Regions from separate parts of the Homo sapiens genome. Here all the other regions are linked to region 2. The links are contacts of gene promoters, found by promoter capture Hi-C in blood cells and fetal thymus (Javierre and others, 2016). All regions are on one chromosome and are shown on one strand. The core of a region is centred on a gene start or on the middle of the fragment in contact, and the rest is flanking DNA. Distances in the headings are between cores, read along the strand shown. Region 1 overlaps AHDC1 (AT-hook DNA binding motif containing 1). Region 2 holds the start of GPR3 (G protein-coupled receptor 3). Region 3 overlaps AHDC1 (AT-hook DNA binding motif containing 1).

What was found. Contacts are between HindIII fragments. The CHiCAGO score rates a contact against its expected background, and 5 or more counts as called.
Region 1: a fragment that was not itself captured here is called in contact with the fragment with the promoter of GPR3 in region 2 in 2 of 17 cell types (endothelial precursors and naive CD4 T cells); the score reaches 5.8 in endothelial precursors.
Region 3: a contact is called between a fragment that was not itself captured here and the fragment with the promoter of GPR3 in region 2, in 9 of 17 cell types (non-activated CD4 T cells, fetal thymus, naive CD4 T cells and 6 more). The highest score is 8.3, in non-activated CD4 T cells.

Annotation. Positions count from the first base shown.
Region 1 is chr1:27,534,142-27,538,618 of GRCh38, forward strand. AHDC1 (AT-hook DNA binding motif containing 1) reads right to left here. Exons shown (of 9, transcript NM_001371928.1): 9 at 104-775. Among named protein-coding and RNA genes, the nearest start is that of WASF2, 46 kb to the left of the region's middle. RefSeq lists an enhancer at 3,399-4,000. The HindIII fragment of the contact is 6,262 bases long and covers 1-4,477 here.
Region 2 is chr1:27,390,677-27,394,844 of GRCh38, forward strand. GPR3 (G protein-coupled receptor 3) reads left to right here and starts at 1,946. Exons shown (of 2, transcript NM_005281.4): 1 at 1,946-2,061; 2 at 3,118-4,168. The coding sequence starts at 3,123. The coding sequence ends at 4,115. RefSeq lists enhancers at 562-1,098, 1,099-1,635, 2,173-2,708, 3,537-4,168 and a silencer at 1,650-2,149. The HindIII fragment of the contact is 9,449 bases long and covers 1-4,168 here.
Region 3 is chr1:27,583,306-27,587,942 of GRCh38, forward strand. All of the region lies in intron 3 of AHDC1 (AT-hook DNA binding motif containing 1), which reads right to left. Among named protein-coding and RNA genes, the nearest start is that of AHDC1, 19 kb to the right of the region's middle. The HindIII fragment of the contact is 3,903 bases long and covers 353-4,255 here.

The DNA.
Region 1 (4,477 bases), core at 601-3,100, 140 kb after region 2:
GTAGGTATTTCAACTCCTCTGGAGAACCAGTAGCTGGTGACAAAACCCAGCGGTGTCCCTTCCATTCCCTCCACCCTCACTCCCCCTTTCACAAGACACAAGGTTGGTTTTTTTTTTTTGTTTTTTTTTTGTTTTTTTTTTGCTTTTTTTCATTTCTTTTTAATACAAACTTGGATCTTTGGGTGTGTCCTGCCAACAGAAAACAACAACAACAACAACAGAAGAGAAAACCCAAAAGAGTGAAAAATAAGAAAGAAAAAAAAAGCTCCCGCAAGAGGTTCTTCTCCCTCCCCCCCACCATGCGAATTTGCACACCACGGGACCACAGCAGGTTTACAGAATGCAATATACAATCCACGATTTATAATAAAACAGTATATACAATAAATAGGATATTGTTCATTTTTGTCAAACGACCTGTAGATAAATTTCTCAGTGCATACTTGCAGGGGCTCTGGACACCTCGGGGCCCCGCTCGCAACCTCTTGCACACGCTCGCTCTCTCGCTCTCTCTCTCTCTTTTTTTTTTTTGTCTTTTTCTAAAACTGTGTTTTGTTTTTAAGTTTTGTACATTTTTAAAAAGTATTTACAATTGCTGGTTTTGTGCAGAAAGGGCTCACCTTCGGCTTCTGCGTGGAGGAGATGGGTGGGAGGGGGTGGAGGGAGATGGGTCTGCAGGGGGTGTAGGGGGCAGGGTGGGAGGCAGAGGGGCAGGAGCTCCTGCCAGAGGACGATGTGGACGCTGGGAGGGATCTTGGCGTTGGTTTTCTGAAAGCTGCAAAGAAACACAAGAGAAGAGGCAGGAGTGAGCGGCACGCATCGACTGTGCTCTGAGATCAGGGAAGTGAAGAGGGAGACCCCCACCCAGCTCCTCCCAGGATTCAGCAGGGTGAGGGGGAAAGCTAACCACTGTTCTTTCTCACAAAAACTCAGACCTGCCTTCTCTGAGCCCAGTTTCCCCATCTGTAAAATATGCGTGTCCAAGCCCCAAAACACAGGGTGAAGCAGGTGCTGGGTGAGGAGGTGGGGTTCCAGGCAGTGGAATTTGTTAAGAGCTTGGGCTCTGGAATCAGACACAGCTGAGTTCAAATACCAGTGCCACCCTTTAGTAGTGCTATGACCTTGGGCATGTTGTTGAACTTCTGTGAGCCTCAGTTTGCCCATCTGTAAAAAGAAGATAACTGAACTACCCCATTGGTTTGCTGGGAGGATTCAGCGGTATAGGACAGATGAAGCCTGGTCCTTAAGTGCATAATAAATTATACTGATTATTATTCATTATTATTTTTCTGGGGCAGTTAGGCTCTCCAAACCTGCCTCCTCATGTCATGATGAGTTTAGTAATTCCTCCAACTTAGGCTGTTCTGAGGAATGACATCATGGGGAGGGCAGGGCCTCAGCACACAGCACAGGTGTGAACAACTGCTTTTATTTCTTCTAAATCCAATCCTCTTCTTACCAATGCCATTCTGTTCCTTAGAGAGGTGAGGTGAGGAGGAAGTCTTTCTCAGTGAAAGAACAGAGAAACTGCCCAACACAATGCCATCTGTGTTTGGCTTAACCCTGCCTTCCTGAAGCTCAGACACTCCCAAGTTCCCAGTTCCTCCCATCGCCAGACACTCGAGATTGGAAGTACCCCTTTTTCCCAGACAGTTCTCATTATGCTTGCGGGGCCCTGGGGATCTGACTTCCCTACCCAGACCCCCAGCTTGGCTAGACCCCCTGGATTCACAGCTCTGCTAGGGTGAGTGAGAAGGTCCCCTGAAGGACAGGGATGGGCTCGGGACTTCCTAAGAGCTCCAGTCATTATTAGCCTGGTCCTTTCAGACTTCTGTCCTCCTCTCAGAGCCCCGAGACACACATCTCCCACCCTCAGTGTGCGACCATCTCCATCCGAATTAAAGGGCGAGGTGAGGATGCTGAAAGGGCCTCCTCAGGTTCCTTAGGAGCCCATCCGTCCTCCCCCACACCAGCAGGAATCAGGCGGCGGCAGAAAGCCTCTCCTCCCTTGTACTTTCTTGGCTTCCCTTTCTACCAGAGCCACATTTAAATTCTGCTCAGCCTCGGCTGCTGTCTGCTGGGCAGTCAGCCCCGGGGACGACTTTTGTCCTGAGGCTGGACTTGCCAGGACTCCCCCAAGGTCCAGGGGAACCAGGTGGGCTCCTGCAGAGGCAGGGCAGCACCTCATCCTGGTGGACCAGACCAGGTGGCAGGCAGAGGCATAGGAGAGGAGAAGAGCTGCATCTTTGTTAAGCTGTCAGGTTGCCTGCAGTTGCAGGAGGATGGAATACTAGCCGTAGGGGCGAGCGGTGTGCCTGGGAGGGTGACAGCTGTGCTGCAATGGGGTGATAGGTAGAAAAGCAGCTCTTGGGGCAAGGGCTGCTGCTGGGATGAATGCAAGCTCTCCACAGTCAGGCGGTAAACAGGCTGCAGAGACAAGAGGGGTGTCTATTAGGGAGCAGAATGATTTTATCTGGGGTAACTGCTTGAGCCAGAGCGCTGGGGGCATCTATCCAGAGGACTGCTCTATTGCGGTTGAAGAACAGTTGCCAAGCTAAAGAACCTCTGTTGGGGTGTTGGGGGTGACAAGGGAAGGGGACTTTAGGATGGGCTGCTCCAAACCACTGGCAAACTGATATTGTCCAACGCCAGCCTCCCCTGCTCCCTCCAAGGGCCCCGGGGCAGGCTGGGAGCCTCTGCACAAATCCCTGCACCCCCACCCCCACCCCAGGCCCTTAGCCACTGCCAGTGACCCTCTCTAAGCCAGGTCTCCATGGTGATCTCAGCCCAGCAGGCGGCTCCTGCCAGAACCATTCCCGCGGTGCCTGCGGCCAGGCAGCAGGAGGCTTTCTCACCCTCTGCTAAGCCGCCCATCGCGTCTCACCTTCCTCCTCCCACTACCCTCCCCAGCTTTCAGGACTTGGCCAGCCAGAGACTTTGGCAGAATCTTCGGGATGGGAAGGAGCGGGGGAGGGGGGAAATCAAAGCCCAAAAGCCCCAGGGTTCTCTCATGGAGGTGGGGGAGAATGCTGTGGCTGTGTGGAACCCTGACCTCACCAGGTTCAGCTCTCCACAAAGCAGGACCAGACACTAACGTGCCAGGCAGCCCAGTGCTAGGCACTGGGGACAAAGCAGAGACCAAGACCGATCTGGTTCCTGTCTTTGAGAGGCTCACAGATAGAGGGGAAAGCAAAGCAGACCCCAAACCAGGGTAATTACCACGCAGGGAGACAGGGGCTGTGCCACGGAAGGTCCTGGGGAGGCAGCTAACCTGGTCGTGGCAGGAGAGACTGTGGCTCTTCAACCACTGCTGAACACTACCCAGCACATGCTGGGGCCAAGACGTACGCTGACTGAGTGACAGAGCGGGGACTGACCTGAGTCTGGTCAGCATGTCAAGGTCCAGCTCCGGCCTTGCACACCTTCAGAACACCTCCTTAGACCACCCTGTTACCATAGCTACGGTACCCTTGTCATCCCGACCTGGCTCCTCCAGGGCAGGAACCTATATGTGGTACTGCTGCACACCCAGGGCTAGCACGCACCGGCCCCCAGCACACCAACCACTGTTCTGCAGACTTCACCTTTTAGTGCCTCCGTGACACACAACTGCAGAGCCACATTCCTCTGAGTCCTCATGCTCCGGTGGTTTCACCATCTGAGGTGCCAGGGCATTAAGTGGTCTCTGCCTGTCAAGGGGGGGACTGGCACTGGCAGCAGTGAGGGACAGCTGAGCAGAGATTCAAAGTGCTGCAGAGCACATATAAATCAGGTTGTCCAGAGGGGGCTGCTCTCCTCCAAAAAGGAAAAGGAATATATATTTGTGCTTTCATTTAAGTGAACAGCAAACATGTATTCATGCCCACTGGCTGCCAGGGCATGAGTTAAGGTCTAACCTCTACTCTCTAGTCTCTACTCTCTTGAAAGGGTCCAATGTCAAACAAGGCAGTAGAGCAGAAGGCAAAAAAGAGTGCATGAGGCCGGGCAGGGTGACTCACGCCTGTAATCCCAGCACTTTGGGAGGCCGAGGTGGGTGGATCTCTTGAGCTCAGGAGCTCAAGACCAGTCTGGCCAACATGGAGAAACCCCGTCTCTACAAAAAATACAAAAACTAGCCAGGTGTGGTGGCACACACCCTGTAACCCCAGCTACTCGGGAGGCCGAGGCATGAGAATTGCTTGAACCCAGGAAGCGGAGGTTGCAGTGAGCTGAGATCGTGCCACTCCACTCCAGCCTGGGTGACAGAGCAAGACTGTCTCAAAAAAAAAAAAAAAAAACCAGAAAAGAAAAAGTGCATTAGAATTTGAGAGGCTGATTTCCTGTGTGACCCAGAGTAAGTCCCTTCCCTCTCTGGGCTTCAGGTTTTTTTGGTTGTTTTTTGTTTTTTTTTTGAGACAGGTTCTCACTCTATCACCCAGGCTAGAGTGCAGTGGCACAATCACGGCTCACTGCAACCTCCACCTTCCAGGCCCATGAG
Region 2 (4,168 bases), core at 696-3,195:
GGAGGGAGAGTGATGGGGAGGCCAGTGGCGATCTGAGAGTTCAGAGCAGCCTGTTTCAGAAGTAATTCGGGAGCAGAGACCTGGATGAAGAGAAGGGTTGTTGTCAGAGGGGTCAGGTGCAAGAGCCCAGGAGGAGGAGCCCCTGAAGCCACTCCTCACTCTCTGCTCCCGCCCCTGGGTGACATTATTTACCCCTAAAACATCAGTTGCCACCTGCATGCCTACACCTCCCAGGTGTCCCTCATTATCCAGCTGTAACATTGATGGCCAATGGCAAGTAGAACCCACTCAACAACCCCATGAGGCCGGTACTAATATTATCCCTGTGTTTTAGATGAGGAAATAGGCACAGAGAGCTGAAGAAACTCTCCAAAGTCACCCAGCTAGGAAATGGAGAAACTGAGATTGGACACTTCCACCCCCTAAGCCCCCTAAACTCACCACATCCAACCTGAAATGAATCCTCTTCTCCAGCTCCGACCCCCTCCTCCTCCCATGTTCCCTGCCACTTGACCTTCTGCTGCCTCACACTCAAACCCAAAACCTGCCTGGTGGAGGCTGACCATGGGGGCTGCAGTGATGGTGCTGTGATGGGGGTGTCCAGTGGGGCCTGGGATCCTCAGGCCTCTTAACCTCATCTTCCCCTCCCACAGGCCTGCATGATTCCAGGGAGCATCAAGGCAAGAGACACAGGGAGAAGGAGCAGCCAGTCCCCCTGCCGCAGGACTGGCCACATCTGTCACATCTGGAGAAGTCTGCCCAGAGTGGTTCCCCTGGACTAAGGGCAGATGGCGTTGGGGAAGAGGGAGCTCTTTCTCCTTGCTCCACCCATCAGGATGCCTAAAATAGGAGGCTGAGAGGGGCCTGCCCTGAGGACTGAGCTGCCAGGCTTTCTGCTTCCAAGTTCTTCCCGGCTCCCCATCTCCTCCTGCTTCAGGGAAGTGCACCCCTCACCCCCTCCACGCTGGCTTTCTAGATACTGGAATAAATAATTCAGGTTTTGAAATCTTGCCAGGCCCACCCCTCCGGTGCTGTGAGGGCGCTATTGGGCTGACATGAGTGACGTCACCCAGCTCTTATCCCAGCCCCGGCATCACGGGACTTGCCCTGGCAGCAACTTACCTGCCTGGTCACTGTCAGTCCAGACCCTCTACCCTGTGCCCCTCACCCTGGAGCCCACTCACCACAGCCACCTGCTATCTTCGTTCCAGGGCCCCACAGTCCTCATGGCTTAGCATTGTCGCTTCAGTACCCCAGCCATTCTGACAGGGTAATGGTGACCTGAAGTCACCTGGACACTCCATGTTCCCAGGCCGCTGCCTCTGCCATCCCGGGGTCCCTGAACTCCCCCCTGCTGCATAGTCACCCTGACACTGCCATGGTTGCCCTGAGGGCTTCCCCTCTACCGTTAGCGTCCCACGGCCATCACCCCCCACCCCAAGATTCTGTCACCATGCTAATGTCGTCACTGCCACCCACCTCCCCGCTCCCTCGTGCTCCCTGTCATCGTCACCTCAGGGCCCCATCATCTTGGAAACCCTGTCATTCTCACCAGGGAAGCCCAACCAGCCCCATCACAAGCTCTTCCTTCGTCACCTGGATCTCGTCAGCCTCTCTGCCACCCAAGGGTCCCATCACCCCACAGCCTAGCCGGGCCCCCTTTCCACTCTTCCACCACGTTCCCTGCAGCCTCTCTGAGACTTCAAGGCTCTCGCACCGGCGCCTCTGAAACCCCCGGCCCGCAGAGGGCGCCGCGTCAAGGACAGCGCGGGCGGACTCGGGAGGGGGCGGGGCCGCAGCCACGGTCGCTTTTTATGAATGGGGGAGCGGGCGGTGCGAGGCCTTATTACTATGCCGCGCAACGCGCGCTGCGCCCCAGCGCGCCGCGCCCATTGGCTGATCGGACCGCTGACGTCACCGAACCGGTGGCCGGGGGCGGGGCGGGGTGACTCACGCCGCTTCTCCCGCGGCCGCGGGGGCTTCTCGGGGTCCACGCACGCCCTGCGCCGCCAGGACCCGAGCGGAGCCTCCCCGCGGCCCGGCCGCGCCTGGTCCTGAGCGGTGAGTAGCGGGCCCCGCCGCGGGCACCAGGGGTCCTGAAGGGCACGCAGGATGCTGGGGCACTGGGCCGGCGGAAGGCTCCTAGTGGCCGGCCGGGGTTCGAGTTCGAGGTGGGAATTCTGGGTTTAGGCGATTCTGGGTTAGCAGGCTTGGGCCCAAGTGCTCGAGTGCTGGGGTTGAGTTGGATGACCCGGCGAAGGGTAAGCATTCCTGCAGGGACCCGAGGCCCTGGAGGGACTGATGGTCATCTGAGGTTAAGCCGGCAGGAGGCGTCTGGGGCAGGGACCCAGGGGTCCGAACAGCAGGAGGTGTCCAATTTAGGAATCCAGGTATCCAGGCAGGAGGCAGAGTCAGGCCCAAAATCCAGGTGTCCGGGCAGAAGGAGGCATCTGACTCAGGGATCCAGTCTTCCAGCAGGGGGGTCTGCCCAGAGACCTAGAGATTCAGGCGGAAAGAAGGGTCCAGCCAGGAACAGAAGTCTGGGAGGGTGGGGGGTGGGGGGCTGAGTTCCCAGGTGTTACCGCGGGAGTGCGGGGTGATGGCTGGCGGGAGCTTCACGCGCATTCCCTGGGGGCGGAGTCTAAGGCTGGCAGTACTGAAAATCGTGAGGGGTCTGGGAGCCTCAGGCACGAGCTAGCATCATCATCTCTGATGGGAGGGAGCGGAGCTGCTCAGTCTCCCTGATGGGGTAGATGTTTCCCTACCCCAATCTTGAGCCTTCGGGGGCATCCCCTGGATCCTATGGCCCTCTTCCACTTATAGTACCCCTTCTTCTGTCTCTCCTCTGGTCACACACGTGGGAAAAAGAGACCTGCAGGACCTAGGACAGGGATCCCCAGGAAGAGACCCCTGTTTAGAGGCCTGGGGGCATTGGAGGGGACAGCGGTATCCTGGGAAGAGCCCCAGGGCATGAATGTGGGGATAAGGCATTGGGACCCTATCAGGTATCCTGAGGAGAGACTCCCACCACGTATCCTGAGAAGCACCTCACCCCCTCCAGACCCCAACTCCCATCACCCAGCTTGGTCAGCTTCTCACAAGGCCTTTCTCCTGCAGGTACCATGATGTGGGGTGCAGGCAGCCCTCTGGCCTGGCTCTCAGCTGGCTCAGGCAACGTGAATGTAAGCAGCGTGGGCCCAGCAGAGGGGCCCACAGGTCCAGCCGCACCACTGCCCTCGCCTAAGGCCTGGGATGTGGTGCTCTGCATCTCAGGCACCCTGGTGTCCTGCGAGAATGCGCTAGTGGTGGCCATCATCGTGGGCACTCCTGCCTTCCGTGCCCCCATGTTCCTGCTGGTGGGCAGCCTGGCCGTGGCAGACCTGCTGGCAGGCCTGGGCCTGGTCCTGCACTTTGCTGCTGTCTTCTGCATCGGCTCAGCGGAGATGAGCCTGGTGCTGGTTGGCGTGCTGGCAATGGCCTTTACCGCCAGCATCGGCAGTCTACTGGCCATCACTGTCGACCGCTACCTTTCTCTGTACAATGCCCTCACCTACTATTCAGAGACAACAGTGACACGGACCTATGTGATGCTGGCCTTAGTGTGGGGAGGTGCCCTGGGCCTGGGGCTGCTGCCTGTGCTGGCCTGGAACTGCCTGGATGGCCTGACCACATGTGGCGTGGTTTATCCACTCTCCAAGAACCATCTGGTAGTTCTGGCCATTGCCTTCTTCATGGTGTTTGGCATCATGCTGCAGCTCTACGCCCAAATCTGCCGCATCGTCTGCCGCCATGCCCAGCAGATTGCCCTTCAGCGGCACCTGCTGCCTGCCTCCCACTATGTGGCCACCCGCAAGGGCATTGCCACACTGGCCGTGGTGCTTGGAGCCTTTGCCGCCTGCTGGTTGCCCTTCACTGTCTACTGCCTGCTGGGTGATGCCCACTCTCCACCTCTCTACACCTATCTTACCTTGCTCCCTGCCACCTACAACTCCATGATCAACCCTATCATCTACGCCTTCCGCAACCAGGATGTGCAGAAAGTGCTGTGGGCTGTCTGCTGCTGCTGTTCCTCTTCCAAGATCCCCTTCCGATCCCGCTCCCCCAGTGATGTCTAGCTGAGTCTTCATGACCCTTCAACCCTGATTACTACAGAATTCCAGAATGTTAG
Region 3 (4,637 bases), core at 1,054-3,553, 190 kb after region 2:
ATTCTCACCTCAGGGCCTTTGCTGGTGCCCGGCACCCTGCCTGGCATGCTCTGGCTCCCCCATCTCTTTCAACTACCCATTTCTCAAGATTCACCTCTTCTGGGAAGCCCTCCCTCCAGACTTCACTTGTTCCCTTCCCTGAGCTCATGTCTTGTTGTTTATTGCTGAGAAAACCCACTCGGGGAGTGTATGTTGATTTGGTTCATTCTCTAATTGTTTCCTGAAGTTGAAGGCCTTGCCCACCTCTGTCCTTCCTTTCTATTCCCCCTGTCCCTCTCCTGGCCAGGTCTCTCCCTCCTTCCTCTGCTGGATCAATGCCCTCACCCCTAACCCGTCTCTTAATCAGGTTTAAAGCTTTGTGACTAATAGTGTGGCTTTTGAGTCTCTCACACTGCAGCTCCACCCTCTCCCTATTAGCTGTGTTTCCTTGGGCATGTCACTGTACCTCTTTGAACCCGATTCCTATCTGTGAAATAAGGATAATATGAGCCCCTGCTTCATGAGCAAATGTGCCTGGCACATAGTAACCACTAAGTATCAGCTCTTTATTATTTCTATAGCATCTTATCATTTCACTTATCTCCATTCTGAAGGCTTCAGCCTCCTCTCTGCCTCCTTCCCAAGCAGTTGTCCCCTCTTTCCAGATTATGGTGGTAACAATAAGATTGCTAACATGACCCCTTATGATCTGCAGTGACTGGAAACATGTCTGGCACCCAGCAGGTGCTTCATATTAGTTGTTGAATAAATTAATTAGCTAATTTAATCCTCACAACACCCTATGGAGGAGAGGAGAACTAGTATTATACTCATTTTACAGACAAGGAAATCAAGGCCCAGAGAGGGAAAGCAGCTCCCAGGGGCTGGGATTTAAACCCAAGCCGTCTGACTCCAAAGTCGGGACGCTCACTGCCCATTCCATCCTCACCATTCCCATCCTTATCTGCTCTGATGCCAACCCCAGGGAGGGACCCTTTCTTTCTCCAGGTATTGGATCTTAGCATCTAGATGGATGCTCACTGAGCCCCTGCTCCAAAGCTAAACCTTCATGTTTTATCTCATTTGAGCCTCACAAAACCCTATAGCATCAATGCCATTATTATTTCCCCTCAACAGGTGAGGAAACTGAGGCTCAGAGAGGAGTCAAGTAACTAAGGACACACAGGATTCAAAGCCCAAATTCTTTAAATGACATGATTTTTTTGCAATGTTTTTCTCTTATTGTTTTATCCCACTGTTGAGAATTGACCACACCTATCAGCCTTGTTTTTCCAGTTAGTTGGGCAGCAAGCTCTCTGAGGCCAACCCTTCCACCTCTCCCATTGGTGGCCAGCACTGTAGCGGGGTGAGCTGTGCTCTATAGAGGCTTCTGAACCACTGATCTGCACACTCCTAGCGAGGCACAGCCTGACACTCTGCCTGTTTCCCCCACAGCACTCTGCCTTATCACCCCATCAAACTTAGTGTTGGGAAGGGCAGGGCTAGGTCTCCCCTTCGGCCTAGACTAGAGGCTCCCCAGAGATGCCTTATCCCCCAGGAATTCAGGGCTCCCATCTCCTACTTAGGGCATCAAGGGGGCAGGACAGGACAGGCGTGGTGGCTCACACCTGTAATCTCAGCACTTTGGGAGGCCGAGGTGGGCAGATCACCTGAGGTCAGGAGTTCGAGACCAGCCCGGCCAACATGGTAAAACCCTGTCTCTACTAAAAATACAAAAATTAGCCGGGTGTGGTGGCAGGCGCCTGTAATCCCAGCTACTTGGTCTGGGCGACATGGCAAAACCTCGTCTCTACTAAAAACACAAAAAATTAGGCAGGTGTGGTGGTGCACACCTGTAGTCCCAGCTACTTGAGAAGAGAATCACCTGACCCTGGGAAGTCGAGGCTGCAGTGAGCCGTGACTGCTCCACTGCACTCCAACCCGGGCAACAGGAGTAAGACCCTGTCTCAAAAAAAAAAAAAAAAAAAAAAGAAGGAACAAATGAACAAACAAGGACTCTGGATCCTAGCCTTCCAAGTTCAAAGGGCGGCTCCACCACATACTGACTGTGTGACCTTGGGCAAGTCACTTTACCTTTTTATGCCTCAGTTTTCTGATATATGAAACAAAGACACTAATAAAAGGGCTGCAATAATAATTAAGTGAAGATCTGTTTATAAAGTTGGAATAGTATCTGGAACATAGTAAACACTATATACATGTTTGTTAAATAAATAAAAGTTGAGCTCCACCTAGCTCTAGAAAGGTTCCTGTGGTAGGGTACAGAGCTAGTGACAAAGCCCCTGTTCCAAACAGATAACTGAAGACACACAAGGAAACGGGAAGAGGTAGCAGAGACTGCACACCTTCGAGAAGCCCCTTGTGGCAGGGACCCCCTCCTCCTCCCCACATCCTCCAGAGGCAGAGGACCCCATTTCCCGGCCTAATCAGTCTTCTGACCTAATCCCCCCACCCTAGTCCTCAAGCCACTTCCCCTCCCCTTCCTCCAACTGTTAACTCTTTCCATGCAATCAGACTGTGGCCAGAATTCAGGCCCTGCTGCTTAGTTGCTATGTGACCCTGGGCAAGTTACTTAGCCTCTCTGAGCCTCAGCCATCTCCTCTATACAAGGGGTTAATCCCCCTGGAGGTCTGTCCTAGGGATTAATGAATAACTGAAATCATACCCCCGGATATGTCCATAGATACTAAGACATGCTGGTGTCCCACAGGCCCGACAATGTGGATGGGCATGCTGTCTGGGCACTGGGGTGGGGGAGAGGGGAAAGGAGCTGCTGTTAAAAACTGACCCCCAACTTCAAAAGTTTCCCCAAGGGTGCCTAAGCGCCATCCAAGGCAAGCTCCCCATCCTTCCAACTACCATCCTATGACATCAAAATACTGTTTCTTGAGAGACAGGCAGGGGCCTCAGGTCAGGCCCCTCATTGCCACAGTCACTACTTCCAAGGCCCTGAAGCAGACCTGGGCGAGAAGAGGGAGGGAAAGGAGGAGCCACAGGTGAGATGGGAGGAGAGGACCCCTGGTGGAGAGGACCCCTGGGATGAGACAGGCAGAAGGGGAGAGGGACAGGCCTCCAAGGACCTCCCTCTCCCCCACAGCTAACCCGGCAATCACCTGGCCCAGCCTTCCACCCATTTGAAAAGGAAGAGGAGCCAGCGGCAGTAGGTTATGATAGGCGATTACCCGTCATTAATTAATTAAAATAAACAGCAGATTAAATACAGCAAAATTAAAATAGCACAGGAAATTAATTCTCTCCTAGCCCTACCTCACAGGTGAGATGCTTAAAGGGGCCCTTGAAGCCAGGATCCAGGGCAGCTTGGGCTGGAGGCGTGTGTCACCAAAACCTGCCTTACACCACAACTCCCGGCAACCCCAAATATCAAAGGCAGAGCCCAGCTACCCATAGGCACCCACCTGGCTCTGCCACCCCAGATTGGCCTCCTGGCTCCTTATCCCCAGGGCACTCCAAGCCCTGCTCCCCAGTCAGTGGGCAGGAAGGGTCCTGACACCCTCTAGGTCGGGGGGTTGGACACTGGGCCACATCTACCACCACACAGGTCAGAGCAGAAGAAAAGAGGCACCCTGGTCCTCTCTTCTGGGTCCCCTCTGGGGCTTGGAGTCAGGTCTCGGCAAGACCCCCCTCTTCTGTGCTGAGGCCCTGGCCCCTCATTTGGAGTGCCCCAAAATCCATCTCTGAGGACCCCTCACTTTCCTCCACTTTTGGCTTAGGATGCTCTGGAAGAAAGTACTGCTGAGGCCCAGAATCCCAAGCCAGAAAAATGCCTGACCCAGTTGGCTAGACCAACCAACCCCTAGGACGTGATGCCAGAATTCCCTCCTACACAAGACTAATCGGCTCATTGCACAGATGGGGAAACTGAGGCCGGGGAAGACAAGGCATTTTGTTTGTGGTCACCCAGTGACCTAGTAGGAGAGCCTGAAGCTGACTCTCTAAGGGGTACATTCCATGTCACACTACAACACTGGATTTTCAGAGGGCGGCTCAGTTCCATGCTGCCCTCTCCCAGCCTAGCCTCTGAGGCCTCGCCTCCATAGGCCCGTTCCACAACTTTCCCTTCTGTCCTACGCAGCAACTGGTTAGACCTCAACCAACCTCAGTTCCTGCCCTCGGCCTTGCTGTTCACCTAGCTTGCTTGGAAGCTCCTTCCCCAACTTCTCCCTGCCCAAATTCTACCAGCCAGCTCAATACCAGTTCCTCCATGAGCCACCCAGAACCCTGACAATTTCCTTTAAGCTTCTGGGGTGGAGGTGAAGGTGAAGACTCACTCTCTGCTGTCTGTGTGATATGGTTATCAGGTGAGCTTTCTGTAGACTAAGAAAAGAGTCTGGGCCCCAGCAGCTGGCACAGTACCCAGCCCTCAGAAGATGCTCAGTAAATCTCTTCATCTGATGTCCCCCCATGTCCAAGTGATAACTGACAATAATGGCTATTATTTATTGAGCAGCTACTACAAGCCCAACACCTGTACTACCCCATCCTTGCACGACGAACCTTGCTCATAGAGGTTGTATGACTTGCCTAAGGTCACTCAGCTCAGGAACTGGAACCCCACTGATCCTTAACCCTAATTGAATCTCCTCTCCATCCTACTCACCACTTCTAGGTTAGACCAT